Linked DNA regions of Homo sapiens: regions 2 and 3 are each linked to region 1. The links are contacts of gene promoters, found by promoter capture Hi-C in blood cells and fetal thymus (Javierre and others, 2016). All regions are on one chromosome and are shown on one strand. The core of a region is centred on a gene start or on the middle of the fragment in contact, and the rest is flanking DNA. Distances in the headings are between cores, read along the strand shown.

Region 1 (5,076 bases), core at 1-2,500:
GGGAAGGCAGGTCTTCCCCTAGCACATGGGGACCCCGGCCTCGAGGGTGACCTCCCTACCCCGCCCCTGCCAGCCACCAAGCGCAGGTGCAGCGGGGGCCAGACTCCTGCCGGCCTCAGAGGACACCTGGCCCAGCACAGGCAGCTAGAAGGGCCGGTGGGCACCGGGGCCGGGAAGCCCCCACCTCACCACCTGAGGGCCCCTGGGAGGCTCCTCTGGCCTGGCTGGGCTGGGTCTGGGGCCGCCACAGGCCCCTCACGGGGCGGCAGAGGCAACTTCAGTGTCCCTGTTAGAGCAACACGGGTCCCTCCGTGGGGGGCTGGGTGCGGCCCCCTGCCGTGTATTTCCTCCCCAGGGAGTGGGGCCTCCCCGGGAGCTGACGCCACCACCCTGCTTAGCCCTCACAGGGCCCCAAGGTGTCCGAGTGTGTTGGGTCTGAACGCGAAATAAAGAAATCCTCTCAGCCCGCCTTTGCCAGCGTCGTCCCTCCCACCCCACCCAGACCACGTCCAACAGCCTGGGACTTTCGGGACCCTGGGGTCGGGGCACCGTGTGGAGTGAGAAAGGCGTGAAAGACAGCGGCTGCGGCCACCCAGGGCACCAGCCACATCCTCTTCCTCGTCCCCGCCCCTCAGCCTCCCTCCTCTGGCTCCTGGCTGGTGGGTCTGGGGGCAAGGCAGAGGCGCTCCAGGTGGAGGGGGGCGGGCCGGGGTGCCCACGCTGGGGTGACGCAAGAAGAAAACTCCCGGGCCTCAGAGTCGGCGCCGGAAACCTAGGTCTGGGTTTCCCTCGTGGTGGTTGTGTACTGAGGACCTGGAAGTGATCATATTTTGGATATATTCGGTTAAATAAAATCAGCGGTTAGGATTCACATCGCTGCTTCTTGCCTTTTAATGGGGCTGCTGAGCAAGATGGGTTCCCGTGGAGCCCGGCTGTGCCCCTCACCCCGATGGCGCTGCCCAGGCCTCGGGCTCCGCTCGGACGTGGGCCTGGCTGTGTCCGGGGTGTCCTGGGGCTCTCGGCCTCCCTGCTCCCAGCGTCCCTCCCGGCGTGCCCAGGCCTCGTCAGGGCCTCCTTCCCCTCCCTCGGCAGCTGAAGAAGTCCCCTTTGCCAGAGGACACGTGTCTGCGCCCTCTCGGGAGTGGGGCCCCTCAGATCCATCCAGAAGCAGGCAGTTGGGGGGCCCTGCGGGAGTGGGAGAGCTGAGGGCTAGAGTTCCATTGGCAGTTGGGCTGTGAAGCCGTGAGGTTCTGGGGAGAGAAGGAAGGTTCTGGAACGGCCCCGCTGCCCCACACCTGCCTCCCTGGGGACCCTGAGAAGGCAGCCAGACGAGGGCAGCAGCTCGTCCCTCAAGGCCCAGAGCTCTCACGGGACTTCCTCTGGCTCCTGACCCCCCTGGCCTGTGCCCAGCTCTGGGCAACCTCAGAGGCCCCAAGGCCCAAGCTACAGCCGAGGGCAGGGTGGCCGGTGCAGCCCAGCAGCCATGTCAGGTGACCAGAGCGGAGGAGCGGGGCCCAGGGAGGGGCTTGCCACAGGTGTGAGGGTGGGGACCGCTCTGCTTCTGACCCCGGGCTCCCTCCAGCTCGCTTGTTCCTGCCGCCCAGTGCTGTGTGTCTTCAGGCAGGGCCCTGGACTTGTCTGAGCCAAGCCCGTCTGGATCCTGTGTGACCCAAGGAGACGCGTTGAGCTCTGGGTGGTGGGCGAGGGTCCTGCGGGGGTTTGGGGCCTTGTTCCCGTAAGCTCCAGTGGGGGCCGGGCCCCAAGGGGCAAGCTCCCAAGATGCCTCCTTGTAGAGTTGGCTGACAGTGGACCCTCAGGGGCATCGGCCCCTTCCCAGCTGAGAGCCGTCACCCTGGAAGACCTGGGGCTCCTCCTGGCAGGAGGCCTGGCCAGCCCCGAGCCCTTGAGCCTGGAGGAGCTCTCGGAGAGGTATGAGTCCAGCCATCCGACATCCACGGCCTCTGTCCCCGAGCAGGACACCGCCAAGCACTGGAACCAGCTGGAGCAGTGGTGAGCCCTGCAGGGGGTGCTGGCGGGGGAGGACCACGTCGCCGCCGCCTCCGCCTCCACGGCGGGCACCGCCAGACTCGCCCACTCTCGCCCCGGCCAGGGTGGTGGAGCTGCAGGCCGAGGTGGCCTGCCTGCGGGAGCACAAGCAGCGCTGTGAGCGCGCCACGCGGAGCCTGCTGCGGGAGCTGCTCCAGGTGCGGGCCCGCGTGCAGCTGCAGGGCTCAGAGCTGAGGCAGTTGCAGCAGGAGGCGCGGCCGGCAGCCCAGGCCCCCGAAAAGGAGGCGCCGGAGGTGAGCGGCTCCCCCACCCACAGGTCGAGCTGCCCCTTTCCTGGGTGTTGGGGGCAGCTGCTTCTGGGCCTGGAGCCCAGCTCACCCCTGCTGCCCAGGCCCAGAGCTCCCAGGGGCCAGTGGTGCCGGAGCTGGGTGGACTCCAGGGGCAGGTGCCAGACCCGGGCCTAGGTCCAGCCCACAGCCTCCTCTTCCTCCTCGCAGTTCTCTGGTCTCCAGAACCAGATGCAGGCCCTGGACAAAAGGTACCCCCCACACACCTAGGGGCACAGGCCCAGGGCGGGGAGGTGGTGGCGAGAAAGCAGCGGCAGGTGTGGTGGGGGGTCCACATCTCCCGCTGGGTGTCGCTGGAGTGGGGGATACACATCCAGGTCCAGCTAGAAAAGGCCGGGTTTGTACGTGCCTGGGCGGCCTTCAGAGGCCCAGGAAAGCCATGGGAGGTGGCCACAGGGGCCCCTTGGCCAGACCCCCAGCCCGCCGAGGCTGCTCAGCCCGCCTGGGCCTCTCGGGAATGGCTTGTTGTGTCCCAGGCTGGTGGAGGTCCGGGAAGCCTTGACCCGGCTCAGGAGGAGGCAGGTGCAACAGGAGGCGGAGAGAAGGGGCGCCGAGCAAGAGGCCGGCCTCAGGTGGGCGCCCACCGCCCGTGGCTGGCTCCGGAGCTTGCGTGGGGTCATTTGAGAGTCCCTGGCTGAGCCAAGACACGGGTCCCCCTGCCGTGTGTCCCCAGTAACCCGGCGGGGCACCGCCCTCGGTGCCAAGCGTGCTGGGAAGCCTGGGCCCGCTGCGGACCCTCTGTGGGGAAGAGACTCGCAGCAGCCCTTCCCTGCCACCGGTGCTGTGTTTCCCATTCCTCTGTTTTCTGGTGGGGCAGGGGGCGGGGGTCGTACACCTCCTGCCTGGCCAGCCTGTGGGTCAGCCTCACCCTGCTGGGCCCTCCGGCCAGCTGGGCTGGTGTGACCACAGCCGACTTCTCTAGACTGGCCAAGCTGACCGACTTGCTGCAGCAGGAGGAGCAGGGCCGGGAGGTGGCCTGCGGCGCCCTGCAGAAGAACCAAGAGGACAGCAGCCGGAGGGTGGACCTGGAGGTGGCCAGAATGCAGGTACCACCAGGCCCAGGCTTCAGGGGGGCCGCCCAGAGGGCCGAGGAGGAGACCCTAACCCTCTCGGCCTGTGCCATCCGATACAGCGGCCGTTCACCATGTATCTGTGTCCACTGAAATCAGCTATAGTTGTAGACAATGTAAAACTCAATTCCTCAGCCGCACATGCCCCATTTCAAAAGTTCAGGTTGTTTGGGCACGGTGGCTCACGCCTGTAATCCCAGCACTTTGGGAGGCTGAGGCGGGCAGATCACAAGGTCAGGAGTTCAAGACCAGCCTGGCCAACATGGTGAAACCCCATCTCTACTAAAAATACAAAAAACTAGCCAGGTGTGGTGGCGGGCACCTGTAGCCTCAGCTACTGAGGAGGCTGAGGCAGGAGGATTGCTTGAATCCAGCAGGAGGAGGTCACAGTGAGCTGAGATCGCGCCACTCCAGCCTGGTGACAGAGTGAGACTCCATTTCAAAAAACAAAACAAAACAAAAAAACAAAAGCTCAGGCCACGTGCAGTGGCACACGCCTGTAAATCCCAGCACTTTTGGGAGGCCGAGGCGGGAGGATCGCTTGAGCCTGGGAAGTCAAGACCAGCCTGGGCAACACAGCGAGACCTCATCTCAAAAAAAAGCTCAGTTGCCACGTGGGGCCGGCAGCTGCAGATCTGGGCGCTCTTCGTCCCAGGAAGCTGCCTGTGTCCTGCCGCCTCCACCCCTCCCCACACAGCCAGCGCCTGCCCGGGTCCACAGATCGCAGCCCCGAAGCCCCTTCCACGGCCACTCTCGGGCTCCACCTTTCCCTGCACACAAAGCGGAGTTCACCTTCCTCGAGGACACGAGTTCCTAGAAGCCAGGGTCCCACCCACGGGGCTGGAGTGGCTCCCCCTCCTGCTGTGGCCTCAGCAGGGGCCTCCGCTGTGGGTGGGGAGGGAACGGGCAGCTGCACATTTCAGCAGCCCGGGTCTGAGCTCCACAAATAGAGACCGGGGACTGCAGCCAGCTCCCGTGCGCATCAGGCAGTACGCTGGGTGAGGGGCCAGGACTGCCGGGGCACCCAGCTGCCACCCACATAGCTCCACTGCCCGGAGCCGGCAGCCTCCCTCTCACTGCCCTTCAGGAAGTTACTGAGTGGCCGTGTGGAGCAGGCAGGGGTGCTGGGCTGAGGATTCCCAAGGTGCCAGGTGTGGGGGAGCTGCCGCTCATGAGGGCGTCTGCCTTTCCCTGAGTCCGGGTGTCTGAGTGCTCTCTAGGGCCAGAGGCAGCAAAGCCAGGCCGACACTCGTTTTTTGTTTTGAGACAGGGTATTGCCTGGTTGTTCAGGCTGGAGCGTGGTGGTGCCATCACAGCTCACTGCAGCCTCAACCCCCCAGGCTCAAGTGATCCTCTTGCCTTAGCCTTCCCAGTAGCTGTGACTGCGGGCGCATGCCACCATGCCTGGCTAATTTTTTTTTTTTTTTTTTTAAGACGGAGTCTCCCTCTGTTGCCTGGGCTGGAGTGCAGTGGCACGATCTCGGCTCACTACAAGCTCCGCCTCCCACGTTCACACCATTCTCCTGCCTCAGCTTCCCGAGTAGCTGGGACTACAGGCGCCCACCACCACGCCCGGCTAATTTTTTTGTATTTTTAGTAGAGATGGGGTTTCACTGTGTTAGCTAGGATGGTCTCGATCTCCTGACCTCGTG
Region 2 (5,076 bases), core at 1,567-4,066, 240 kb before region 1:
AGGCATGAGCCACCACGCCCGGCTGAGAAACCTTTTTCTTTTTCTTTTTCTTTTTTTTTTTGAGACGGAGTCTCGCTCTGTCACCCAGGCTAGAATGCAGTGGTGCGATCCCGGCTCACTGCAAGCTCCGCCTCCTGGGTTCATGCCATTCTCCTGCCTCAGCCTCCTGAGTAGCTGGGACTACAGGTGCCCGCCACCACGCCCGGCTAATTTTTTTTCTTTTTTAGTAGAGATGGGGTTTCACTGTGTTAGCCAGGATGGTCTCGATCTCCTGACCTCGTGATCTGCACACCTTGGCCTCCCAAAGTGCTGGGATTACAGGCATGAGCCACCGCGCCTGGCCAAGAAACCTTTTTCAAAGAGTCCCTCCTACTGTAACCACTAGGAGGTTGGGTAAATACTGAAGAACTATGTAGATGTGTGCTAGATCAATTCTTCCTTGTTAAGAGTTTCAATCCCACTGACGATCTGAATAAAAACACTCTCCCTCCCTAGGAAAAATGTTTAAATGCACAATAATTTGCACGCAATTTCAGGAATCTCATGGGGGTCCGTGGAACAATTGGGAGCAGCTCCCTGGCAGGAACCAGAAGCCCCCGTCCACTTTTGTGTCCTCAGTGCCTGTATTCAACCAAAGTCTCCAGAACAGATGGAGAATTCAAGACTACTCAAGTCACCTTCAAGAGAGAAAGTACAAATCAGAACGTTTTCATTTTGGAAGAACTCTGATAACAAGTGATTACCTGAACCAGACAATATGGGAAAGGATCAGTATAAAGAAACAGAAAATATTTTCAAAAGAGAATCGTGGAGGCCAAAGGATTAAGGATTTCCAAAGGCCCATACCTGGGGGATTTGTCCTCTTGGGTATGTTCTGAGGTTCTTCTGTTGGTCCAAAAATATTAGATGCCATCCTATTAGGCCTGCTGGAAGGAGTAGCTTCTTCTGGACTTCCAAAAAGATTGCTCGATTCTCCTCCTGGGGGCTTCATGGCCCTACAAGCACAGAGTACATGCCAATTACTGATGGCAGACCTGAAAGCTTGTCACTGTGCAAGGATTTTGGCACAACTAGACAGGGTAAAAGTATTTTGTTTTTTTCTTTTTGAGACAAGGTCTCATTCTGTCACCCAGGCTGGAGCGCAGTGACGTGATTTTGGCTCACTGCAACCTCTGCCTCCTGGGCTCAAGTGATCCTCCCACCTCAGCCTCCTGAGTAGCTGGGATTACAGGCACCCACCACCACAGCTGGCTAATTTTTTGTATTTTTGGTAGAGACAGGGTTTTGCCATGTTGCCAAAGTTGGTCTTGAACCCCTAAGCTCAAGTGATCTGCCCACCTTGGCGTCCCAAAGTGCTGTGATTACAGGTATGAGCCACCATACCCAGCAAAAGTATTTTCTTAACATCTACTGAGAAATCACATACCACCATTAGTTAATACTGGTATGACTAGTTTACAGACGCCAGACTACTTCTGCTGCTCTTTAGTTTCCCTTAAAAGTATTCTTTTTTTTTTTTTTTTGAGATGGAGTCTCGCTCTGTCGCCCAGGCTGGAGTGCAGTGGCACGATCTCAGCTCACTGCAACCTCTGCCTCCTGGGTTCAAGTGATTCTCCAGCCTCAGTCTCCTGAGTAGCTCAGATTACAGGTGCCTGCCACAACACCTGGCTAACTTTTGTTTGTTTTTTTTGAGACGGAGTTTTACTCTTGTTGCCCAGGCTGGAGGAATGCAATGGCGCAATCTCAGCTCACCACAACCTCCGCCTCCTGGGTTCAAGCAATTCTTCTGCCTCAGCCTCCCACGTAGCTAGGATTACAGGTATGCGCCACCACACCCAGCTAATTTTGTATTTTTAGTAGAGACGGGGTTTCGCCATGTTGGTCAGGTTGGTCTCGAACTCCTGACCTGGGGTGATCCACCTGCCTCGGCCTCCCAAAGTGCTGGGATTACAGGTGTGGGCCATCGCACCTGGCTCTTGAATCACTTTTTATTGTAAAAACTTAAACTTAAGAACTAATAAGGAATTGCCACAAAGCTCTATTTCTAGAGCACTATCTACATTAAAAACCGGTGAAACGCTGAATTCATAACAACTGGAAAAACTTTTAAATGCATTTGAGAGAGAGGCTTACTGAAATTGAGATTTAAACCAGTGAGTGGCACATGCTCTCTCACTAGTCCTAAGCAATGGGACTGTCTGTGATCCCAGACGTTTAGAAACGAAGTCAGCCCTCTGTATCCACGGGCTCTGCTTCCATGGATTCAACCAACCTCAGATCAAAATGTCAGAAATAAAAGGATGGTTGCATCTGTACTGAACATCTACAGACTTCTTTTCTGTCATTATTCCCCAGGTGATACGGTGTAACAACTATGTGCATAGTATTAGGTATTATATGTAACCTTGTAACCTAGAGATGATTTAAAAGCATATGGAGGATGTGCATAGGTTATATGCAAACATTACACCACTTTATATCAAGGACTTACACATCCTTGGATTTTGGCATCCTGGGGGTCCTGGAACCAACTCCCGCAGGATACCAAGGATGACCATACTTGAAATTACAGGGCTCAACATCACACAAAAACTATGATATGAGGTTAGATCTCACTGGAAAGCTTTGCAAACACTGACCACTCAAGGTTTGGTTAACAAAAATAACAGTTTCTCCTCAAAAGATCTAGAAAGAGCGCTGAGGGCTCCTTGTGACTGGATGTGAATGGAGTTCTCAGATCTCCTGCTATAAAGCAGGAAGGCAGAGAGTGCTTCAGTCTCCGCCTGCAGAGACCCACGGGCTGGCTACTGTACCCCAGAAACCAAGCGTGTGCTGGCCGACCTCTGAAGTGGTGCCCAGGGCCCCTGTCCACTCAGGAGGCTGGGGGAGGTGGATGCCAAACTTCCTGTCAGCAGTTGCCATTTCCTGGAGGATTTGAGGAGGGAGAAAAAAAAAGACAGGTGCACTTAAGAAAAATTATTTTTTAAAAATAACCAATAACCAAGCTTAAATGAGAAAGGGCTGTCCGGGAGCAGTACCTGGCACCTGTAATCCCAGCACCTTGGGAGGCCGAGGTGGGAGGACTGTTTGAGCCCAGGAGTTCGAGACACGCCTGGGCATATGGGGAGACCCTGTCTCTACAAAAAATACAAAAATAAGGCCAGGCGTGGTGGCTCACGCCTGTAATCCCAGCACCTTGGGAGGCCGAGGTGGGCGGATCACGAGGTCAGGAGATCGAGACCATCCTGGCTAACACGGTGAAATCCCGTCTCTACTAAAAATACAAAAAATTAGCCGGGCGTGGTGGCGGACGCCTGTAGTCCCAGCTACTCAGGAGGCTGGGGCAGGAGAATGGCGTGAACCCGGGAGGCGGAGCTTGCAGTGAACCAAGATGCGCCACTGCATTCCAGCCTGGGTGACAGAGCGAGATTCCGTCTCAAAAAAACAAACAAACAAACAAAAAATTAGCTGGGTGTGGTGGTATGCGCCTGTTGTCCCAGTTATTCGGGAGGCTAAGGCTGGCTTGAGCCCAGGAGGTCAAAGCTGCAGTGAACCATGATTGCATCACTGTACACCAGCCTGGACGAAAGAGTGAGGACTTGTTTCACCAAAAGGAAAAAAAATAAAGGGTGGTGGGTGGGAGGGCGTGGCTTAACAAGATTTTAGGTGAGGTGCTCTTAGAGTGGCCATAAGGCCATCTGACTTCCATATCCATTTTTGAATCACGCAGCCCTCCTAATTCTACATTTTTTTTTTTTTTTGAGACGAAATCTCGCTCTTGTTGCCCAGGCCAGAGTGCAATGGCACAATCTCGGCTCACTGCAATCTCCACCTCCTGGGTTCAGGCGATTCTCCTGCCTCAGGCTCCTGAGTAGCTGGGATTACAGATGCCCGCCACCATGCCCAGCTAATTTTTCTATTTTTAGTAGAGACGGGGTTTCACCATGTTGGCCAGGCTGGTCTTGAACTTCTGACCTCAGGTGATCCGCCCACCTCAGCCTCCCAAAGTGCTGGGATTACAGGCATGAGCCACTGTGTCCGGCCTATTTTATTTTTTTGAGATGGAGTCTCACTCTGTTACCAGGCTGGAATACAGTGACGCGATCTCAGCTCACCGCAACCTCCACCTCCCAGGTTCAAGCAATTCTCCCGCCTCAGCCTTCCGAGTAGCTGGGATTACAGGTGTGCGTCACCGTGCTTGGCTATTTTTTTGTATTTTTAGTACAGACGGGGTTTCACCACGTCGGCCAGGCTGGTCTCAAACTCCTGACCTCAAGTGATCCGCCCGCCTCGGCCTCCCAAAGTGCTGGGATTACAGGCGTGAGCCACTGTGCCCAGCCAATTCTGCGATTTTTCTTGGATAGTGTAGCAGGTCTAAACATGCACGGGTCTCTACAGTTCTCTCTTTGGAAATAAGGGATGAAGGCCTGCAATCTTTCGAACTGAACTGAATTTATCAAGTCTTATGTGAGCTGAGCATGAGCTATAATTCCTTTTACTGACTTATTTCAAATATGGCTTTTCTCTCAAGCCCTCAAGGTGCTACAAACTGTCAGATCTGATTCCAGGTAGACTCGCCTTGACTGCAAGCTCTGTAGGACTCTTTCCCGACCCCACATTCCCTACATTCACAGTCTCCTGTCTCCTCTGCCTTTCACCCTTGCTTCAGTTCAACTTGCACATCTCTCGAGCACCTATCATTGGCAATCCTTCCCCAGACGCCGTAGATAGAGGAAAGCAAGTCCTTACCCCGGAGGAGCTTCAAGTTTAAACAGGAAAGCTAGAGCTCTGCACAGGTGGTTTCAGTGTCTGTGTGAGTGACGTGACAGACGCCTAGTGCCATCGGGACTCCAAAATTTGGAAGAGGTGAAACCCAAATTGAGTCTGTGGCCTCCATGTGGAATGGGGACCAATGGGCGCAGGAGGTGAGTGGTAGTTACTTGCAATGACCAGTGTTACTTTGGGGTGATGGAAACACAATATTTAATATTGTTCTATGTGCTTTTCTGAATTTTATTTGAAAACAAGCAAAGAAAAAAAAGTGGTACCAAAGACGGTTTTAGCAGAAATTATGGC
Region 3 (5,076 bases), core at 1,337-3,836, 130 kb before region 1:
AGACATGGGGTCTCACTATGTTGCCCAGGCTGGTCTTGAACCAAGCTGAAGTGACCCTCCTGCCTCAGCCTCCCAAAGTGTTGGGATTAGAGGTGTGAGCCACCATGCCTGGCCACTAATTTATTAAGTTACAAAAGGAATACATGTCAGTTGTAACTAGTAAGGTGGCTCTGGCGTGAGTAAGGGTGGGTTAGTGATCCCTCATGACCCTTCTTGGACACCCAGCATGTCCTTCCAGGTCACTATCCCTCCTCAGGATGCAGATGCATGGCTGCTGTTAGTGTTTGTGTCAGGGACGCAGTGACTACAGACACTTAGGAGCTTCCAGTCCTTAAAAGGACAGCTTCCTAGGCCAGAACTTTGGGGCCCCAGCCCTGCGTATGTTTCAGGGAGTCACATCTGCCCCATGGAGAACCTGAGGGAGGGGCCTCCCATGCAAAGGTCAAGTGCCATGGAAGGGGGTGGGATATGGGACCAGTTGGTGGTGGGAGGTGGGAAGGGAGGCAGGAGGGCTGGTCACCCTGAGGGCAGTTGGGGTTGAAGCTAGGAGTGACAGGGTACATTTTGTTGACCAAAAAGAGACTGAAGCACAAAATGTGATTTAAACAGTCTACTTGGCTGGGCATGGTGGCTCATGACGGTAATCCCAGCACTTTGGGAGGCCCAGGTGGGAGGATTGCTTTAGCCCAGGAGTTCCAGACCAGCCTGGGCAACATAGTGAGACCTCGTCTCTGCAAAAAAATACAAAAATATTAGCCAGGCATGGTGGCAAACCTATGGTCCCAGCTACTTGGGAGGCTTAGGTGGGACAATTACCTGAGCCTAGGGAGGTTGAGGTTGTAGTGAGCTGTGGTTGTACAACTACACTCCAGCCTGGGCAACAGAGTGAGACACTGTCTCAAAAATAAATAAGTAATTAAGTGAGTAGTCTACCTGAGCCAGGATAAAGGCAGCTGCCCAGAAAACTCAGCCCCGAGGAACACTGGGCCTGGGCTCCATTTTACGTTTGTTACAGGCAGGTTTTTAAGGCCGAAAAGAGGGACCGGGCACAGGCTAATGTCAGGTTGTTGGTCAGGAATCCTCTTTGGTTGATGGAAATGCCATTGATTAGCAATGGGCTGAGCATTGGTGCAGGTATGGTCTGCGGCAGCTTATCAGGTTAGTTCTCAGCTACCTGTGGCGGCAGCAGGCAGTTTCCAGAGAAGAACACAGCTCAAGGGAGAGCAGGGCGTGGCTGCTGCCTCATTTAAGGTCTCTGGGGGCCTGATCCCTGAAAAGGACTTACCTTCCTCTGATAACAGTTCTTTCCTTTCCCCAATTTTGACTTATTTTCTTGGCTTTGTGTTATTTTCTCCCTAGAAAGTAACTTCTGTGCCAGCGTAGTGGGGAGCCAAGCTTAAGGGTGGAGAAGAGTGAAGTTGTGGGAGACGCCGCAGGAGAGCAGCTCAGCCTGGCCCCAGGCAGCAGCCACCAGCAGAGCTGGAGTGGAGGGGCACTGTGGCTCTTATAAGGGGGGTGACTAGTTGCATGATGGGTGGCTACAGAGAGTATAGAACTGAGGATGTTCTGAGTTTTCTAGCCTGAGAGGTTGGGTTTGTCGTGGCACCTTTAAGACAGGAACTCCAGAGGCAGAGCTGGCATAGGGGGCAGGGCAGGATGCAAGTTCGAGTTCGTGGTGCCTTGGAGAGCCCTTAGGGGTGTCTAAGAGACAGTTGGAAATACAAGCTCTGGAGGTCAGGAGCTGGGTCAGTGCCCTGAAGACAGTACTTTGGGAGTTGGGAATGTATTGACATAGAGATGTTAAAGAATGTAAAAGAGTTGAGCTCAGATCTGAACCCGGGACCCAGCAGGTAAGGGGCAGGGCAGGGAGTGAGCTCACCGAGGAGCCTCCAGTGCTCTCTGTCATCATTAATAGTGTCAGCCCTGGCCCCATCAGCTAGTCCGCTCCCCCTGCTCTTTTTATCCTGTGTTCAAGCAGCCACTTGCTCATTCCATAAGCATTTATTAGGCTCCCACTGGATACATCAAAATGAAGTGAGCTTCCTCAGCTTGGAATACTCCCACCCTGACTCCAGCCATCCGTCCCTCACCCTCAGTTTCCTAAACACACTGTGCAGGCTCCTGCCCCTTTGCTGGCTTTTGGAGTCTGTGTTTAGATTTCCGTGCCCACTAAGTTCTCCTGGAGCTCTGCCCACCTTCCAGCCTGCCTTGCCACTCAGATTCTGTGCAGCTCCCATGCACTAGATCTGTGCCTTCCCTGCTGCCTGTCTTGGCCCCAGGATGCATTCAGCCGTTCGCATCTGACTCGCTGCCCCCACGTGGAGTGCCCTGGGGATGTGCCACTCACTTGTGATGCTCCTCCCCCAACCCACTGCTGGGCAGGGTGTAGGCATTCACTGGGCATTGGTTGAATTGAGCCAAGAGCTTCGCTTTGAAACTCAGAGGATTAAGGTTAGTCCCTAAAAGACACACCACAAAGCATGAGGTCTGCTCCAGCGCAACTGTGGGGTGACTGTGGGGTATATGCTTTCTTTTTTGTTGTTGTTTCTTTGAGATGGAGTCTTGCTCTGTCGCCCAGGCTGGAGTGCAGTGGCATGTTCTCGGCTCACTGCAAGCTCCACCTCCCGGGTCCACACCATTCTCCTGCCTCAGCCTCCCGAGTAGCTGGGACTACAGGCACCCACCGCCACACCCGGCTAATTTTTTGTATTTTTAGTAGAGACGGGGTTTCACCGTGTTAGCCTGGATGGTCTCGATCTCCTGACCTCATGATCCACGCGCCTTGGCCTCCCAAAGTGCTGGGATTACAGGCGTGAGCCACCGCGCCCGGCCTGTGGGGCATGCTTTCTAACGTGCCGACTGTGGGACGTGCTTTCTAACATGCTGGAAAGGCCAAGGTGATGCTTTGAAAATATAAATGATGCGAAATCACTTCCCAGCTCAAAACCCTGCAGTCTTCCAGTTTCACTTAGAAGGAAATCTCACTCTTCCCCTCAGCCTGCAGGAACGCCCCTGTGGCCTCTGCCCACCTGGCTGACTTCTTAAACATTTTACTGAAATACCCACACACTTAGAAAGAGTGGGTGCGTCGTGCCTAAGCGTACGGTGCAGGGGCTTTTCGCGGGTGGGACATTGCCAGCATGTAACTAGCATCCTTCCTCTCCCCCACCGCCTCACCCAGGGTAACCATTCACGTGACACAACGTAACAAGTATTCCTGCGGCTTTCACATGACAGGGCCTCCACAGACAGGGCCCCCCAGAGCTCCCCAGTGGATGGAATTCGCCCTCTCTCCGTGCCTGGCACTTTCCTGAGATCCCATTCTTTACCTACATGGCACTTACTCAGCTGAGATTACATATGTATTTGTTTGTCGACCGCACTGCTGTCTGTTTTCCCCTCTAGACTGGAGGCACCAGAGCTCTCCTGAGGACAGGGCCCCGTCCTTCCCCCGCAGCACTAGAGTCCAGCAGAGTGCTGGGCACACTCTGAGCCGTCAGTAAACACTGAGCGAGTGAATGAGTGGAGTGTACAAGGTTATCTGTGAACAATGTTCAGTAACTCACATGAAATATATCCATTTCTTGTGTGTACAAGGTTATCTGTGAACAATGTTCAGTAACTAACATGAAATATATCCATTTCTTGTTCCTTTTCCTCAGGGGACTGTCAAACAACTCCTCCTTTTCTCGGAGACTGAGGGGAATCCCTGCTTCTTGGACATCTGTGGGAATTTCCTGGTTGTAGGGACAGACTTGGCTCACTTTAAAAGCTTTGATCTTTCCCGAAGGTAAATTTTTTTTCCAAATAGAAGTGTGAACATTTTTTTAGTCAGTCAGGAGACAGTGTGATGGGTAGAAAGTGAGTTAGAAGCCAGAAGACTCCTTAGGTGCCCATTTTAACACCGACATGCCACTTGTGCTCTCGAATGCCTCATGTTGGGGCTCAGTTCCTGGCCTTTGCCTGGTGGTGGAGCCGTGTCGGGGAGAGGAGGCTTGAATAGTTGAAGCACAGGGAGTGGTGAGGGTGGGGAAGCTTCTATATGATGAGTGCATGACATTGTACATTTGTTGGAAATCATAGCGCTTTATGGTGCAAAGTGTGAACCTTAATGTATACAAATGTTTAAAAAATCATTCAGGCTGGGCAGGGTAGCTCACACCTGTATTTCCAGCACTTTGGGAGGCCAAGGCGAGAAGACTGCTTGAGCCCAGGAGTTTGAGACCAACCTGGGCAACATAGCAAAACCCTGTCTCTACAAAAACTTTTAAAAATTAGCTGGGCATGGTGGCACGTACCTGTAGTCCCACCTGCTTGGGAGGCTGAGGTGGGAGGATTGCTTGAGCCTCGGAGATCGAGGTTGCGGTGAGCTGTGGTTGTGCCACTGCACTCCAGCCTGGGCCACAGAGTGAGACCCTGTCTCAAAAAAATCACTTAGAATGTTAGAGGACCCCAGGACGGAACACAGAAGGTAACAAAACAGTCTCACTGTGTTACCAAATGTATGAAACAGCTTCACTAAAGGGTGTGGGGGGAAAGTGCTGACCTAAGTGGCTCTGGGAGTGAGGGGAGGCCCTGGCGAGCACTTAGGCCGAAGGAACTGCACAGGAGCTCGGCTCTCTAGTGGAGAATTCTGCTCCCCACAGGGGTTGGGATGAGCAACGCTGATCCTGTGATGCGTGTGCACTGGAATTGGACAGCTGAGCAAATGGAGGGTAGATGGCAGGAGCCTGGCATCGCGTGGTGGGAGTGGGAGTGGGAGTTACAGATTAGCAAGTGGAGGGACTAGAATAGGCCCTGGGAGAGTGGATCAGAGGTAGAGGTGTCAGCATGAACAAATCCCTGGCTTCATGTAGGTAGGGATGACTCCATACACAGAATCGTAGGTCTGTATCAATGTACCCGTTGGTACACACATATTTCCTCACTCTGTCAGCTGAGAGGGCCTAGAAGCAACAACCCTGTCCCAGCAGGCACACCTGGTGCCCAGACCTTGGTTTCTACCACCATCCTCCAATAAAGGAGCTATGGATCCTTGGAGAGATGCTGACTCTAGGACCAGGACAGGAAATGTAC

Evidence for each region. The method cuts DNA at HindIII sites, captures the fragments that hold promoters and counts their contacts. A CHiCAGO score of 5 or more calls a contact.
Region 2: a fragment that was not itself captured here is called in contact with the fragment with the promoter of CCDC154 in region 1 in 2 of 17 cell types (naive B cells and endothelial precursors); the score reaches 6.4 in naive B cells.
Region 3: a contact is called between a fragment that was not itself captured here and the fragment with the promoter of CCDC154 in region 1, in 1 of 17 cell types (M1 macrophages). The highest score is 5.1, in M1 macrophages.

The regions. Positions count from the first base shown.
Region 1 is chr16:1,440,730-1,445,805 of GRCh38, reverse strand. It overlaps CCDC154 (coiled-coil domain containing 154), which reads left to right and starts at 1,250. Exons shown (of 17, transcript NM_001143980.3): 1 at 1,250-1,490; 2 at 1,794-2,010; 3 at 2,111-2,300; 4 at 2,505-2,545; 5 at 2,831-2,926; 6 at 3,277-3,400. The coding sequence starts at 1,484. CLCN7 (chloride voltage-gated channel 7) reads left to right here. Exons shown (of 25, transcript NM_001287.6): 25 at 1-871. The HindIII fragment of the contact is 15,368 bases long and covers 1-5,076 here.
Region 2 is chr16:1,681,358-1,686,433 of GRCh38, reverse strand. JPT2 (Jupiter microtubule associated homolog 2) reads right to left here. Exons shown (of 5, transcript NM_144570.3): 2 at 847-995. Among named protein-coding and RNA genes, the nearest start is that of JPT2, 5.6 kb to the right of the region's middle. The HindIII fragment of the contact is 382 bases long and covers 2,626-3,007 here.
Region 3 is chr16:1,570,121-1,575,196 of GRCh38, reverse strand. IFT140 (intraflagellar transport 140) reads left to right here. Exons shown (of 31, transcript NM_014714.4): 14 at 3,663-3,790. Among named protein-coding and RNA genes, the nearest start is that of TMEM204, 39 kb to the right of the region's middle. The HindIII fragment of the contact is 2,377 bases long and covers 1,398-3,774 here.